Linked DNA regions of Homo sapiens: region 2 is linked to region 1. The links are contacts of gene promoters, found by promoter capture Hi-C in human tissues and cell types (Jung and others, 2019). All regions are on one chromosome and are shown on one strand. Each heading gives the region's core, a stretch centred on a gene start or on the middle of the fragment in contact. The rest is flanking DNA. Distances are from core to core; before and after follow the strand shown.

Region 1 (6,584 bases), core at 2,940-5,439:
ACACACACACAAAAAATGCTTTCAGTATATATTTAAAGCCTTAAAATAATATTTATATTCATTTACCAATTAAGAAATAAACTAATAATGGGAGTGCCCAAAATTTGATTTCTAAATACTATACTATTCTCCAATTAAAACAAACAACAACAACAACAAACAGGGATCCTTGGAGAAGTGACTGATGCCAGGCTGGGGAGGGAAAAATATAAGGGTTTTGGGTGCCAGAAAACAAAAACTAAGGAAGGACTAAAAAAAAAAAAAAAAATCGGGGCAAACAGACACAGCTCCCAATAGTCAAAGAGCTACAATAATTTCAGCAATAAAATAACAACAGTACTGCATTCTAGTGCAAAGAATAAAATAAGTATCCAAAGCACACAATAATATAACTGATTGAATAAATAAATAACAGGGGAGAAGGGATAACTCTTCCTCACAAAGATTCCAATTAATACTTTGAATGAATGAGAATTGTATGTAAGTATCCAATGAATGCCTAGAAGGAATGAAGGAAAGAGAAAGTCAAATCCCAACACCACAGTAGTCATTGCTGCAGGCAAGATCAATCAATGAATGCTACTTAGACCAAAGTTCAAAGAGAAACAGCATCTCATATGCAAAGTAGTAAACTATCTTCCCCCAAATAATTACTGATGACTAGGAGAAAGACAGTAAGGTTCCAGTGGTAAAACTTGACAGAAAACTTGAGATGCAACCAAATTGAGGGACTTTATAAAAATACAAATATAAGGCCGGCACGGTGGCTCATGCCTGTAATCCTCGCACTCTGGGAGGCTGAGGTGGGCAGATCACCTGAGGTCGGGAGTTTGAGACTAGCCTGACCAACATGGTGAAACCCTGCCTCTACTAAAAATACAAAATTAGCCAGGCCTGGTGGCACATGCCTGTAATCCCAGCTACTCGAGAGGCTGAGGCAGGAGAATCACTTGAACCTGGGAGGCGGAGGTTGCGGTGAGCCGAGATCACGCCATTGCACTCCAGCCAGTGCAACAAGAGCAAAATTCCGTCTCAAACAAACAAAAAACAGAACAAACAAAAAAACAAATATAAAACACTTCTTCAGAAGTGTTTTGAAAGACTAAGTAACTGTCACAGATTGAAGCAGACCAAGTAGACATGACAACTAAACGTAATGAGGAATTCTAGATTGGAGCCTACAACAGAAAAAGAATGCTTAAATAAACTTTTAAAAGTCTGCAGTTTAATTAATAGTACTGTACCAACGTAAATTTTTTAATTTTGATGAACGTACTATGGTAATCCAAGATAGCAACTTGAGACAAACTAGGTAAAAGGTGTAAGAGAACTCTGAAAGTCTACAATTATTCCAAATAAAAAGTTTGCTGGCCAGGCGCGGTGGCTCACACCTGTAATCCTAGTACTTTGGACGGCCGAGGCAGGTGGATCACCTGAGGTCAGGAGTTTGAGACTAAAAATATGAAAATTAGCTGGGCGTGGTGGCGCATGCCTGTAATCCCAGCTACTCAGGAGGCTAAGGAGGGATAATTGTTCAAAGGGGATGGGGCGGGGCAGAGGTTGCAGTGAGCTGAGATCATGCCACTTCACTCCAGCCTGGGTGAAAGAGCGTTAACTCTGTCTCAAAAAAAAGGTTTGTCTTATCTTACATTGAGAAGTTCCAGTCATTCAGTCATCATCATTTTTATCTGATTTATTTCCATTTTAGGTATTACAGGTTTTGTTTTGTTTTTTTGAGACGGAGTTTCACTCTTGTTGCCCAGGCTGGAGTACGATGGCGTGACCTCCACTCACTGCAACCTCCGCCTCCTGGGTTCAAGCAATTCTCCTGCCTCAGCCTCCCAAGTAGCTGGGATTACAGGTGCCCGCCACCATGCCCAGCTAATTTTTTGTATTTTTAGTAGAGATGGGGTTTCACCATGCTGGCCAGGCTGGTCTTGAACTCCTGACCTCAGGTGACCCACCCACCTCAGCCTCCCAAAGTGCTGGGATTACAGGCATGAGCCACCATGCTCAGCCAGGTATTAAAGATTAACTTGGTAAGTGGCTCTTAAAAATCGAGGACATTTAATACTGTCAATTTTTATCTACCAATTTGGATTCCTTCTTTCATTAATTTGTCATATATTTATTGAGAACCTACTGTATGTTCCAGTACTGCCTTGAGGCGTCTATGAGGAGACAGATTCGTGGTATGCTAAACAGTGACAGCTGCTACATAGTAATATAAAACAAGAGGCGGGCACGGTGGCTCACGCCTGTAATCCCAGCATTTTGGGAGGCTGAGGCAGGCAGATCACCTGAGGTCGGGAGTTCGAGACCAGCCTGACCAATACGGTGAAACCCCGTCTTTACTTAAAATACAAAAATTAGCTGGGCGTGGTGGCACACACCTGTAATCCCAGCTACTTGGGAGGCTGAGGCAGGAGAATCACTTGAACCCAGGAGGCGGAGGCTGCAGTGAGCCGAGTTTGCACCACTGCACTCCAGCCTGGGCAACAAGAGTGAAACTCCGTCTCAAAAATAAAATAAATAAAATAAACAAGGAAAAAGAAAATAAATTTAAGAATAGGAAGGAAAAAAAGAAATTCATAAATTCAATCTTACAGAACACCTAACAATTCGCCTGAGAGTCACAGAAATGTACTCTTTCACATTGTTTCTAATACAAAATCTTGAAAATTGCAAAATACAGTGTTATGTTTTACTATAGTTTACTCTCTGACATCGTAGACTGCTTATGCACTAATTCTTCCTGGATACCGGAAGCCAGAGAAAACCTAGCGGTGGAATACTTGCCATTTTTCATGCTTTTTGTCAGTTTCCTTTTTAAGTGCATACTGAGGTTTATCTTCAAAACATTCTCATCTTTTCGGCTTACAGTAAGACTTTTTTTTTTTTCTAACCAAAATGTGTCTGCCTTTCATTAAGATAACATAAAAGAGCAGCCTAATTCTTTGGTCCCTGAATATGCACACACATGCATGCACACACACACACGCAGACACACACACAACACATGGAGGCTCTCTGAAACTGCTTAATCAAATTACTGCTCAAACCACTCCCTGGCACTTCCTTGCAAAACAACCAACCTAATACTGAGTTTTTAGTTTTGCACTACAAGCCGTTTGAAACAGAATAACATTCTTTCCTGGCCACCACTTTTAAATTCGGAAGGAGACAATACTCTGATCTCTTAGGCCTGTGCAAGTCAGAGTGTGCTACAATCGCTGCAGGTTAGAGCTCTGCCTTTGTTTAAAAACTGCATTTTATATACTAGTTACTTCATTGTGAAAGATAACCACCCTGACAAACAAGATTTTGCTATTTTTCTGCACAAATGTCACTTCACCATTTAGAGCTTCATGCAAATGTGTCTCCTACAGAAAATAAACTGCAAACACGATTTCTTAATTATCCTCGCCAAAAAAAAAATGTTTTAGTGGTGTCATAATGCCAGCACTAATTTTAGCCAAAATAAGAACAAATGCATTCTACAAATTCAGGAGATTATAATTTTTAAAAAGCAGTAGTATGGATATACTTAATGTCACTGAATTACACACTTCCAAATGGTTAAATGGTAAACGTTTATGTATTGTATGGTAAATGTTATGTGTTATTTTGGCACAATATTGTTTCCTCACAATAATACTAACAGGTTTTTTAAAAAGCAAGAGCACGCTCTCATTTCGTAATATATATTTATGGATGTCAGTGTGCAGAATTATGCACAGATATTTTAAATGTCAGGAGGCCTGGAGACAGATTTCAGGATTGCGGCTACTTTTACTTTTCTTCTACTTTCCCGTGTTATCTAATTGTCTCTGATAAATACGCTTTATATGCAGAATTGGATGAAACGAGAAAGCCCGGAGAAACCCGGGCTCCAGATTCTCTACCCCGGACGCCTGGGAGGCAAAGAGGTTCTAGATACGCCCTCAGCGTGGCGGGGGCGGGATCCACCGCCAGACCCCCGCCACGGGCGCAGCCTCCAGGCCGGGCCCCGTCCGCCGCCCGGGCAGGCCCGAGAATGCCGCGGACTTCGGGGAGCCCCGCGCCCGCAATGCCGCCACCCCCACCCCCGCGCCCCGCCAGGCCTCTCACCGACTCCCGCCGCCGAGCGACAATCGGTCCACCCGCCGCCACCGCAGCCGCCCGTCCCGCGCCTACCTCCCGGCGGCTCCAGTCGCGCACGCGCGTCGGCGCCCGGGGCCCTCCGCGGCCTCTCTAGGAAACTGGGAGGCCCAACGTCTCTGCTTCTCTCCGGCTCCGGTGCGGCGGGCGGCGGGGCTTGTCCAACATCCCTCACCTCCCTCAGTTGGACATTTCCCTTCCACGCTCGGATGCCCAGCCGCGCCTGTTTTCTTGCATCCCTCCTGTCGTGTCTGCGGGGCTGCCCTGAAGGCCTCTTTCCCTCCAGGGAAGAAAGGGATCCAAAGCTAGGGGTGAAAATAGGGCCAGCAGTATCTAGCAGACTGGTCCTGGCCAGGAGAAGGGGTTAAGGGAGCCACTCATTCTTCGCCTGGGTACACTTCAAAGAGGGGAACCAGATCCTACGGGAAGCTAGGTGCCAGAACTCCTGCCTTTCCAAGACGAGCTCATCCCCATCATCACCATACCCAGGAATACTTGTTCATAGCCAGCTCAGAGGTGCACCATACTTTAGCTTCCCACGGCCTTCACTCGTTTTCTCCTGTGGGTGAATTCTAACTAGGCTCGCCTGGTGAGTGAACAATGATGCCATTGCCCAATAATATGTGGAATCTGGGAGGAGTAGGTTGGGGGTAGGGGGTGGAGGGGCTGCTTGAAGAGGAGGTGAAGCAACCTGGAGAGGTTGCCCACCCCCTGTAGGAGCAAATGTCATCTATTGCCAGTGCCAGAGAACCTTGAGGGTGCACAGCCAAAGCCATAAGGCCATCTGCTGCCATTGGAGGGCATGCTACAAGCTGCTGTCCTGGTAGTCCTCTGGTTTGTGCTTCCTAGTGGCAGGCTGCAACATGTTGACGATTGATCTTTCAGATGGGCATTGATGATGCCCATCTGTGCCCTGAGGCTTTGCTTTACTCATCTGATCCACCCCTTTTTAATGCCCCAGTCACCAAAGATGGAAACAGAGAATAGATCCTGAACACCAGGAAGATGGTGACAAGGTGATAGAGAAACAGATGGCACATTCAAACAAGGTAAGTGGGGAGAGTTCACAAGGGGCGATTTACACAAAGTGGACAGGGTTAAGGAAATGCAACACGGAGTGGTGCAGAATCCCATGGCTAGCAAAATTTAGAAGCTATTCTCACCCCTAGGAGCAGGCCATCTGAGAGAAACTGTGGCTTTCAGTTGAGGGCTACATCCAAGCCATAGTCCAGCACAAAGGAAGCTGAGGTAATAAATAACCTGAACCCAGCTCTCTTCTGATCTCCTGCCAGGGCTTCCCATTGGCCCAACTCAACTGGAAGCCAGAGGGCAATCCAGGAAACTCAGTCTCCCAAGTGTCACAGCAGGGTTGAGGACTGAGACTGAATATGGAGGGGCAATTGGAAAATATCCAACACATACAAAAAGGAAAATAGAAACTGCTTGTCAATGCCTAATTTGTCCATTAATTTCCACTCGATATAATGTTCTTGAGTGACTCAGAACCACCCATAGTGGTGAGAAGAGTTTTCAAGTTTTGTTTGAGAACAAAATTTTCCCATCGTAGAAGAGTTTGAGCAGGTTCTCTGTGTTTGGGATGTACTTACTGGATGTTTTTCAACGTGATAGGTGGTTAGCATGGATAGCACCCACATTTAGTGTGATCAAACAGATCAACCAAATTGGCTTCACCAGCACTTGCAAAGTTCGGGAAGCAGCCACTGGGAGTGCAGCTCTGATTTTAAGACCTATACAGCTTCTTGAATCTCGAAGTTCTGCTAATACCTGATTTCTCCGAGTGCCACAGCACTCGAGCCTATAACCATGAGGTTTCTTCACTTTTCTGGTAGGAGGCATATTCTTGCTAGCTGTACTTCCTGAGCACTGTACTCTTTCAGATCGGGGCAGTTTGCTTAGTAAAAGCCCTAGGTAAGATTCTCAAATTCTCATGTGCATATGAATACAAATCACTTGGGATCTGGTTAAACTGTAGATTCAAATTCAGGAGGTCTGGGGAGGGACCAACGAATATTTTTAACAAACTTCCAGGTGTACCCATATTGCAGTTCTTGGACCACACTTGGAGAAGCAAAGAACTGTGCATGTAAATCAGTGGTTCTTAACTTTGCTGCAGATTAGAATCCTCCTCAGAGCTTTTAAAAAGTCCATACCTCATATCAATTCAATCCAAATCTTTGTGGGTGAGACACTGACAAGCCTAGATTTTAAAATCCCTAGATGATTCCAACATTTGAGAACCTGGAAGTAGATAATTATCCTTTTACCCTGATTCCTTGCTACATGTAAAAACCACATGCTAAAGGATTGCATGTTCATTTGCTTCTTTGTTTTGGAATTTAAAGTGTATCAGGATTCTGCCTTTCAAACAGAAGGGGGAAATTTCCTCCTTAATTTTTTTCTTCTTATTTTGAAATGGGGAAGAA
Region 2 (7,389 bases), core at 2,254-4,753, 50 kb before region 1:
CCTGCCATTGCCTTTCCCTGCCTGGTTTCCAGCAGTCCCATCACATGGCTCCAAAAAACAGCATCGGGGTTTTTTTCTAGAACCCAAATTTATAAACAAGGGGCAATGTCCTCTGACAAGGTTGGTTTGTGCTCAGTATAATGGTAGCCAGGGCTACCTGGATCAGGAACATCTTGTGATCCCCTCCCTACTCCCCTGGGTCTGGCTTGCTGGGCCTCACACCCTCTTCACACCCTGGTCTCCCTGAGAATTAGATGCAGCTCCCCATGTCACCAGCTGCTTACTGGGACTGCCCAGCCCAGGCCCACCTTGAATCCTCACCACGTTCCCCACTCTATGGACCCAGCGGCTGCTGTGTGTCCCATGGAGCCAGCCCATGGTGCTGGCAGAAGATGGAACAGTCGTCCTCCTGGGCTGGCCCCAGGTCACCCAAGCAGGCTTTTCTCCTCTCCTCACCTGCCTGATGGTGCCCACCCGATGTGGGGCAGTCCACAGGGCTGCTGGAGCTTAGTGAGAAATGAATCCCTTCCCAGCCCCCAGGGGCTTGCCCAGCAGCCTTTCCCCATTGGTGCTAGTAGCCTTGGGCCTTCCCAGAGACTGCTGCAGGCCTGTCCGTAGCATGAGGCCATTGCTAAGGTGAAGGAGAAGCCTCTGTCCCCTCTTCCCTCCCTGGCTCAGCTCACCTGCTCTGGCAGTGTGCTTGGTGAGGCCAGGTGTGCTTCCTCCCTTCCTCCCCAGGGCCTCTCCACCTCGGTCCACACAGGGGCAGTTTCCCCAGGAAACTCTAACTCATTCCATTACCTTCCCCCAGCTGATCTTGGAAACCCCCTTGCTGTGAATATTGGCAAGCTTAAGAGCTTATTGCCCCCACCATGGCGTCCAGCTCTTGATCAGTGTGCTTTGAGGGCTTTGTCTTCCAAGCCTTGGACAACCCTGAATGCTGGTTAGTCTTTGGCTGGCTCCAAGACGCAGTGTCACACAAGTACCACCCTGTGGACACGCTGAAGTTCCCATGGAGTCTTTTCTATCGAAAACTCAGCCTCTTTCAGGCCAAACACCGGCTCCCTTCATGTGCATAGCTTTCTAACTGGTACAATTTCCCCAAAGATAATTTAGAATTATAGTGATCACTTTGGGGAAACTCTGATATATACAAAACAAAAACAAAGCAAAATTCTGAATATCCAATGGTCTGCTGTCTTTAATTGGTATGAGGAGGCTCCTAAACACAATTTGGACTCAAAAAATGCTTCTCTAAAATATTCTTTAGCTATAACTAATATGAAATAGGAGCATCTTTTCCCTCATGTGCATCTTTTTTTTCTTTTTTCTTTTCTTTTTTTTTTTTTTGAGATGGAGTCTCACTCTGTTGCCCAGGCTGGAGTGCAATGGCACCATCTCAGCTCACTGCAAACTCCTTCTCCCAGGTTCAAGTGATTCTCCCGCCTCAGCCTCCTGAGTAGCTGGGATTACAGGCCTGTGCTACCACGCCCAACTAATTTTTGTATTTTTAGTAGAGATGGAGTTTCACGATGTTGGCTAGGCTGGTCTCAAACTTCTGACTTCAAGTGATCCACCCACCTCAGCCTCCCAAAGTGCTAGGATTACAGGCATGAGCCACCGTGCCCGACCAAGCATCTTTAAAATGTTGACATTTCCAATGCCCTTGCCACATTTTGTGAAAGGCTTCAGGTCCAAAACTGTCACTATGTTGGGTAAACAAAAATGTTGGCTGGCAAATCACTCTATTGCATAAACATCAATATTTGGCTAAACATTTTTTTTTTTTTGAGATGGAGTCTCGCTCTGTCACCCAGGCTGGAGTGCAGTGGCGTGATCTCAGCTCACTGCAAGCTCTGCCTCCCCGGGTTCACACCATTCTCCTGCCTCAGCCTCCCAAGTAGCTGGGGTTACATGCGCCCGCCACCATGCCCGGCTAATTTTTTTTGTATTTTTAGCTAAGACAGGGCTTTACCATGTTACCCAGGATGGTCTTGATCTTCTGACCTCATGATCCACCGGCCTTGGCCTCCCAAAGTGCTGGGATTACAGGCATGAGCCACTGCACCTGGGCTTGGCTAAACATTTTAAGGAGACTCTGGATATCAAGAATAAAAGACCCCTCATGAGGAAAATCTTTGTCTTGTTTGCCTAAATGACAGATCATTTTGTTTCACAGGGAGGCATCACTTCCTTCCTTTCCATAAGTTGGAGATTAATACATTCTGGCTTTTAAAAAATTGTATGGCTTGATAGAATTGTCACAAACTGAAATTATGTCAAAACCAGATATAGGACACTCTCGTGTGTGTATTGTATATATGTCTAAACTTTCATCCCTCTTCTTACAGAGAAAAATGATTAGTTATTTGTCTAAAGCCAGCTCCCTCTCATTTTTTTTCTATCCCATTTCCTCTCCTTTTCCCTCTTTTGAAAACTTAACAAAATGAAAGACTTAACAAAAATTACATTCAGCCGTTATGCATATATTCTAGGAATTTTTAGTTCAGGTAAAGTCTAAATTGTCTAAAGAAAAAAGTTATTGAACTATTTTTTATGGACACTAGAAAATGTATTTCCCTGATAACCTTTTAAACTAGCTATGACAAAAGAAAAGACGCCAACTTCAAAATAAAGGAAAATGTTAGCATGATTCACTCCTTATTAGTTTATTTTTTTAAAAAATGTTAGTACAATATTTTGGCTTATTCCAGACCAAAATTAGATTTCTTATAATTCAAACTTCCTAAATTTCCTACATTAATTTTATTTATTTATTTATTTTTGAGATGGAGCCTCACTCTGTCCCCAGGCTGGAGTGCAGTGGCACAATCTCGGCTCACAGCAACCTCCACCTCTCAGGTTCAAGCGATTCTCCTGTCTCAGCCTCCCGAGTAGCTGGGATTACAGGTGTGTGCCACCATGCCCAGCTAATTTTTTGTATTTTTAGTAGAGATGGGTTTTCACCATGTTGGCCAGGCTAGTCTCAAACTCTCGACCTCAGGTGATCCACCCGCCTCGGCCTCCCAAAATGCTGGGATTACAGGCATGAGCCACAGCGCCCGGCCCACATTTATTTTGTAAATGAAATGTTTTCATCATTTCCATAACTTATTTAAAATAAAAAATTTTGACCGGGTATGGTGGCTCACATCTGTAATCCCAGCACTTTGGGAGGCCAAAGCAGGTGGATCACTTCAGGCCAGGAGTTAGAGACCAGCCTGGCCGACATAGTGAAACCCCATCTCTACACCAAAAATACAAAACTTAGCTGGGCGTGGAGGCACACGCCTGTAGTTCCAGCTACTCGGGAGGCTGAGGCACAAGAATCGCTTGAACCCAGGAGGCGGAGGCTTCAGTGAGCCGAGATCATGCCATTGCACTCCAGCCTGGATGACAGAGCGAGACCCTTTCTCAAAAATAAATAAATAAAGTAAAATAACAGATATAAATTCACCCTTGAAATATAGAGCACTCTCAAAAACTGAATTGACTTGACTCTCCCAGAAATCGAAGCTCATATGACTAAAATAATTGCCCTCACCCAGGCATGCCAACTTGTGAAAGTGAAGTATGTAGTTATGCTGGTAGTAAAGGGGCTTTTGTCCACAAATTCAGAGTGCTTAGAGAACCCCAGGGGAGGAGCTCAGTGGGTGGAGTCTCCAGAGATTTGCCTTGGAGGCTGTTGGGACAGCAGGAGTGAGTGCTGTGATTGGCTGGGACCTCGATGTCACAAAGGTCAGGGACAGCTGCCAGAGAATGAAGCAGAGGGCTGTGGGGTGAAGGGACTGCCAGTCTTCTGCCACTCCTTTTCGTGGTCCTTCCCTTCACTGCCTTCCTTCTCCCAGACAGACTGGGCATCCAGTTCCAATCCAAAGGCTGCCCCTTTGACCAGGCCCATCTTCTCCACCTCACATCAGACAGCCAATCGGCTGCCCAGACCTCGAAACCTCAGTAACCTAGAAGGTAAGGACTTTCAGATTTCACCAGGAAGGATTATCCCTTCATGCCTTATAAAAGTAACAGAACCGGTCGGGCACAGTGGCTCATGCCTGTAATCCCAGCACTTTGGGAGGCCAAGGCAGATGGATCACCTGAGATCAGGAGTTTGAGACCAGCCTGGCCAACATGGTGAAACCCCCTCTCTACTAAAAATACAAAAAATTAGCCAGTCATGGTGGCACACGCCTGTAGTCCTAGCTACTTGGGAGGCTGAGGCAGGAGAATCACTTGAACCAGGGAGGCGGAGGTTGCAGTGAGCCAAGACCTCATCATTGCACTCCAGCCTGGGCAGCAAGAGTGAAACTCTGTCTCAAAAAATAAATAAATAAATAAAAACTAATAGAACCTATCAATTCATAGGAAATGGACCTTGGCAAACGTGTGTCAGGAGAGGATGACTTGGAGGTGTCCACCGTGTTTCTTACTGAAGGTTTGTTCAAACCTAGAAATTCACTTGGGACAGCTTATGAGCCCTCTCCTATTCTTGGGAAAGCTTTTAAATTGTCTGACAAAGTCTGTACCCCTGGAGCATGGGTTAGTTTGTTGAAGTCCACAGACCACACAGTTTCTTTGAAGGTGTGCAGCATGAGGGTGAGTTCCTCTATTGCCCACTGATGGAGAACTCACTTAGGCTGTCTTTTCTCTCCTTCAGATGTCTAAAAGTCAATTGGGGTCAAGGAACAAGCCTCTACTCACATGCATGTGGGCAAATGAAGTCACAGAACAAATAACCTACCCTGCATCCAGGTTAGATCCTCCTGCACCATTTCCTGCTTCTCTGCGGATCCTGCAATGTGGACCCCTGTCTGGATGTGGTGCTGGGGAGGTGGCTCCTCCCTGTCCCAGAGGCCCATCTCGTGTTCCCACACAGGCACGGAGTCCAGGGACACCCCCTGCTGCTGCCTAAGAGAAAGTGGCCCAAGAAGCACTGGCCCGGTGCCTGCTGATGCCAGGAGCCCTCTGCTACTGCCTGACACAAGCATCCTGCGCTTCCCCCTCCCAGGCCCTCCCCGAAAGCGTGGGCCACAGGTACCACTCCCTATGCCACTGAGCCCCACATTTCCCATCCCCCAAGCCACTCCCACCAGCCCCAGAGCTTTCCTACATTTATGATTTGTCCAAAAATGTGATGCCCTTCAGCCCCCAGAAGGTCATCCTCCAGGCTGTGATCGTCACACAGGGGGTCCCACATGGGGTCCTCACAGGCCTTCAACCCAGCACAAATCGTGGCCTGGTTTGACCTTTGAAATATCTCAACATCTAAAATTCAGAGCTTTTTTGGAATATTTATTTTCCATAGATATAATTCTTTCAAATAAATTCCTTAGAAAACAATATCCAGTGTTTCATTATTTGTGCTAACATGTGCTTTTCCCATTTTGGAGATGAAAAATATCATTAGAAATAAAAACTCAAGGGACAGATTAAACATCAGATAAGATGCAGTTAGCAGGCCGGGCGCAGTAAAGGTTGCAGTGAGCTGAGATCGCGCCACTCCAGCCTGGGCGACAGAGCAAAACTCCATCACCCACGCACAAAAAAGATAAGATGCAGGTAGCAGAGGGGCCAAGTGAACTCAAACAAGATCTGAAGTGCAATCTTCCTTAAGGAGTCCAGAGATGGGTGACAGGACATTTGAAGGAAAAGTTCCAACAGAGCACAGACAGGCTCTAGGAGATCACACAGGGAAAGGGGAGGCTACATCCAAGAGATAAAGCTGAGAATTTCCCAAAATTGATGGAAAACAGGAATTCTCAGAGTGAGGGATGCCACTGAATCCCACAGAGGATAATTGAAAACATCCACACTTAGTTACATTGTAGCAAAAGCATGAAACACTGAAGATAAACCTTGAAAGCTGCTAGGGAAAATATCTGATGAATTGAAATTAAAAATGATAAAATTTAATGAAATAGTATCATTAACATACTGAAAAAAATCAGACATCTCAGATTTGTACGTTCAGCTAATTATTCAACAATTAGGGAACTATGAAGACTTTCAAGATAAAAAGTTTACCATGAGCAGACCTGGACTACAGGAATGTCTTGCTAAAGAACGGTTTTGGTCTGGGCACTGTGGCTCATGCCTGTAATTCCAGCATTTTGGGAGGCCGAGACAGAAGCAACACTTGAGGCCAGGAGTTCAAACCAGCCTAGCAAGACCCCCATCTCTACATAAAAGTTTTTAAAAAATTAGCTGGGTGTGGTGTTACGCACCTGTAGCCCTAGCTATTCAGGAGGCTAAGGTGGGAGGATCACTTGAGGCTAGGAGTTTGAGGCTGCAGTGAGTTAGGATAGCACCACTGCACTTCAGCCAGGGCAACAGAGCAACACTCTGTCTCAAAAAAAAAAATAAAATAAAATAAAGCAGTGTTCCTTAATCTTGGCACTCTTGACATTTGGGACTGGATAATTCCTTGTTGTTGCGACAGCACTGGGCAGTGTAGAATGTTTAGCAGTATCCCCGTCCTCGAGATGGGGAGGCTGGCACCTCATGTAAAATGTTTGGCCAGGTTGCAGCCTGTGTTAGCTTGGAGGGTGGATCATAATTTGACCAAATCTGTGGCATTAGGAAAACGGCAAGAATCCAGAATGCTGGTTTTGTTGGCTCCTCCTTGGCTGCTTTTAACAAAGTCCTGTGAGAAAAGTGGTCTCTGGCTGGAGCTTGCCAGTGTGCAAGGAGAGCTAGAAGGATCCAGAGTGTTGTTAATGTAGGTAACCCCTGACTGGCCTGCCACACACAAACAGTTGAATAATTTGGTGCCTTGCAAGTTTGAAAAAAATCAGCCACTCATACACCCCAGCCAAGGCAGTTGTGAGCTGTGGCTCTGAAGAGGCAGTCTTTGTAGGAGATAGCCCTGGTGCTGCTAGCAAAGACAAGATTTTGGGTGTTGCTTCTCATAGCAAGCCTATGATATTAGTGAACATGGAGAGATCTGGCACAATCAAGCGTTGCTAAAAGGAACTCAAAGGCCTGCTACAAATTTCATAGAGCTGGACATAGGCCATCCCCAGTGAGCCAGGACAAAAACTAGGCAGAGCCCAATGTCCATAAAGTGTGGGCTGGATGGCTGAGCACGGTGGCTCATGCTTGCAATCCCAGCACTTTGGGAGGCTGAGGCGGGTGGATCACCTGAGGTCAGCAGTTCGTGACCACTCCGGCCAACATGGTGAAACCCCGTCTCTACTAAAAATACAAAAATTAGCCGGGTATGGTGGCGCATGCCTGTAATCCCAGCTATTTGGAAGGCTGAGGCAGGAGAATCACTTGAACCTGCGAGGCGGAGGTTGCAGTGAGCCGAGATACTACCACTATACTCCAGCTTGGGTGACAGAGTAAGACTCCGTCTCAAAAAAAAAAAAAAAAAAAAAAAAAAAAGAAAGA

What was found. Contacts are between HindIII fragments. The study calls those that stand out against the background at their distance.
Region 2: a contact is called between a fragment that was not itself captured here and the fragment with the promoter of ZNF445 in region 1, in 2 of the 25 tissues and cell types used here (pancreas and spleen).

The regions. Positions count from the first base shown.
Region 1 is chr3:44,473,481-44,480,064 of GRCh38, forward strand. ZNF445 (zinc finger protein 445) reads right to left here and starts at 4,190. Exons shown (of 8, transcript NM_181489.6): 1 at 4,111-4,190. LOC101928529 (a long non-coding RNA gene) reads left to right here and starts at 4,210. Exons shown (of 4, transcript XR_940785.4): 1 at 4,210-4,729; 2 at 5,102-5,189. RefSeq lists silencers at 3,938-3,987, 4,008-4,167. The HindIII fragment of the contact is 14,864 bases long and covers 1-6,584 here.
Region 2 is chr3:44,424,193-44,431,581 of GRCh38, forward strand. It overlaps LINC01988 (long intergenic non-protein coding RNA 1988), which reads left to right and starts at 3,730. Exons shown (of 4, transcript NR_144436.1): 1 at 3,730-3,966; 2 at 4,363-4,432; 3 at 4,655-4,749; 4 at 4,874-5,337. It also overlaps the pseudogene C3orf86P. RefSeq lists an enhancer at 652-791. The HindIII fragment of the contact is 6,393 bases long and covers 308-6,700 here.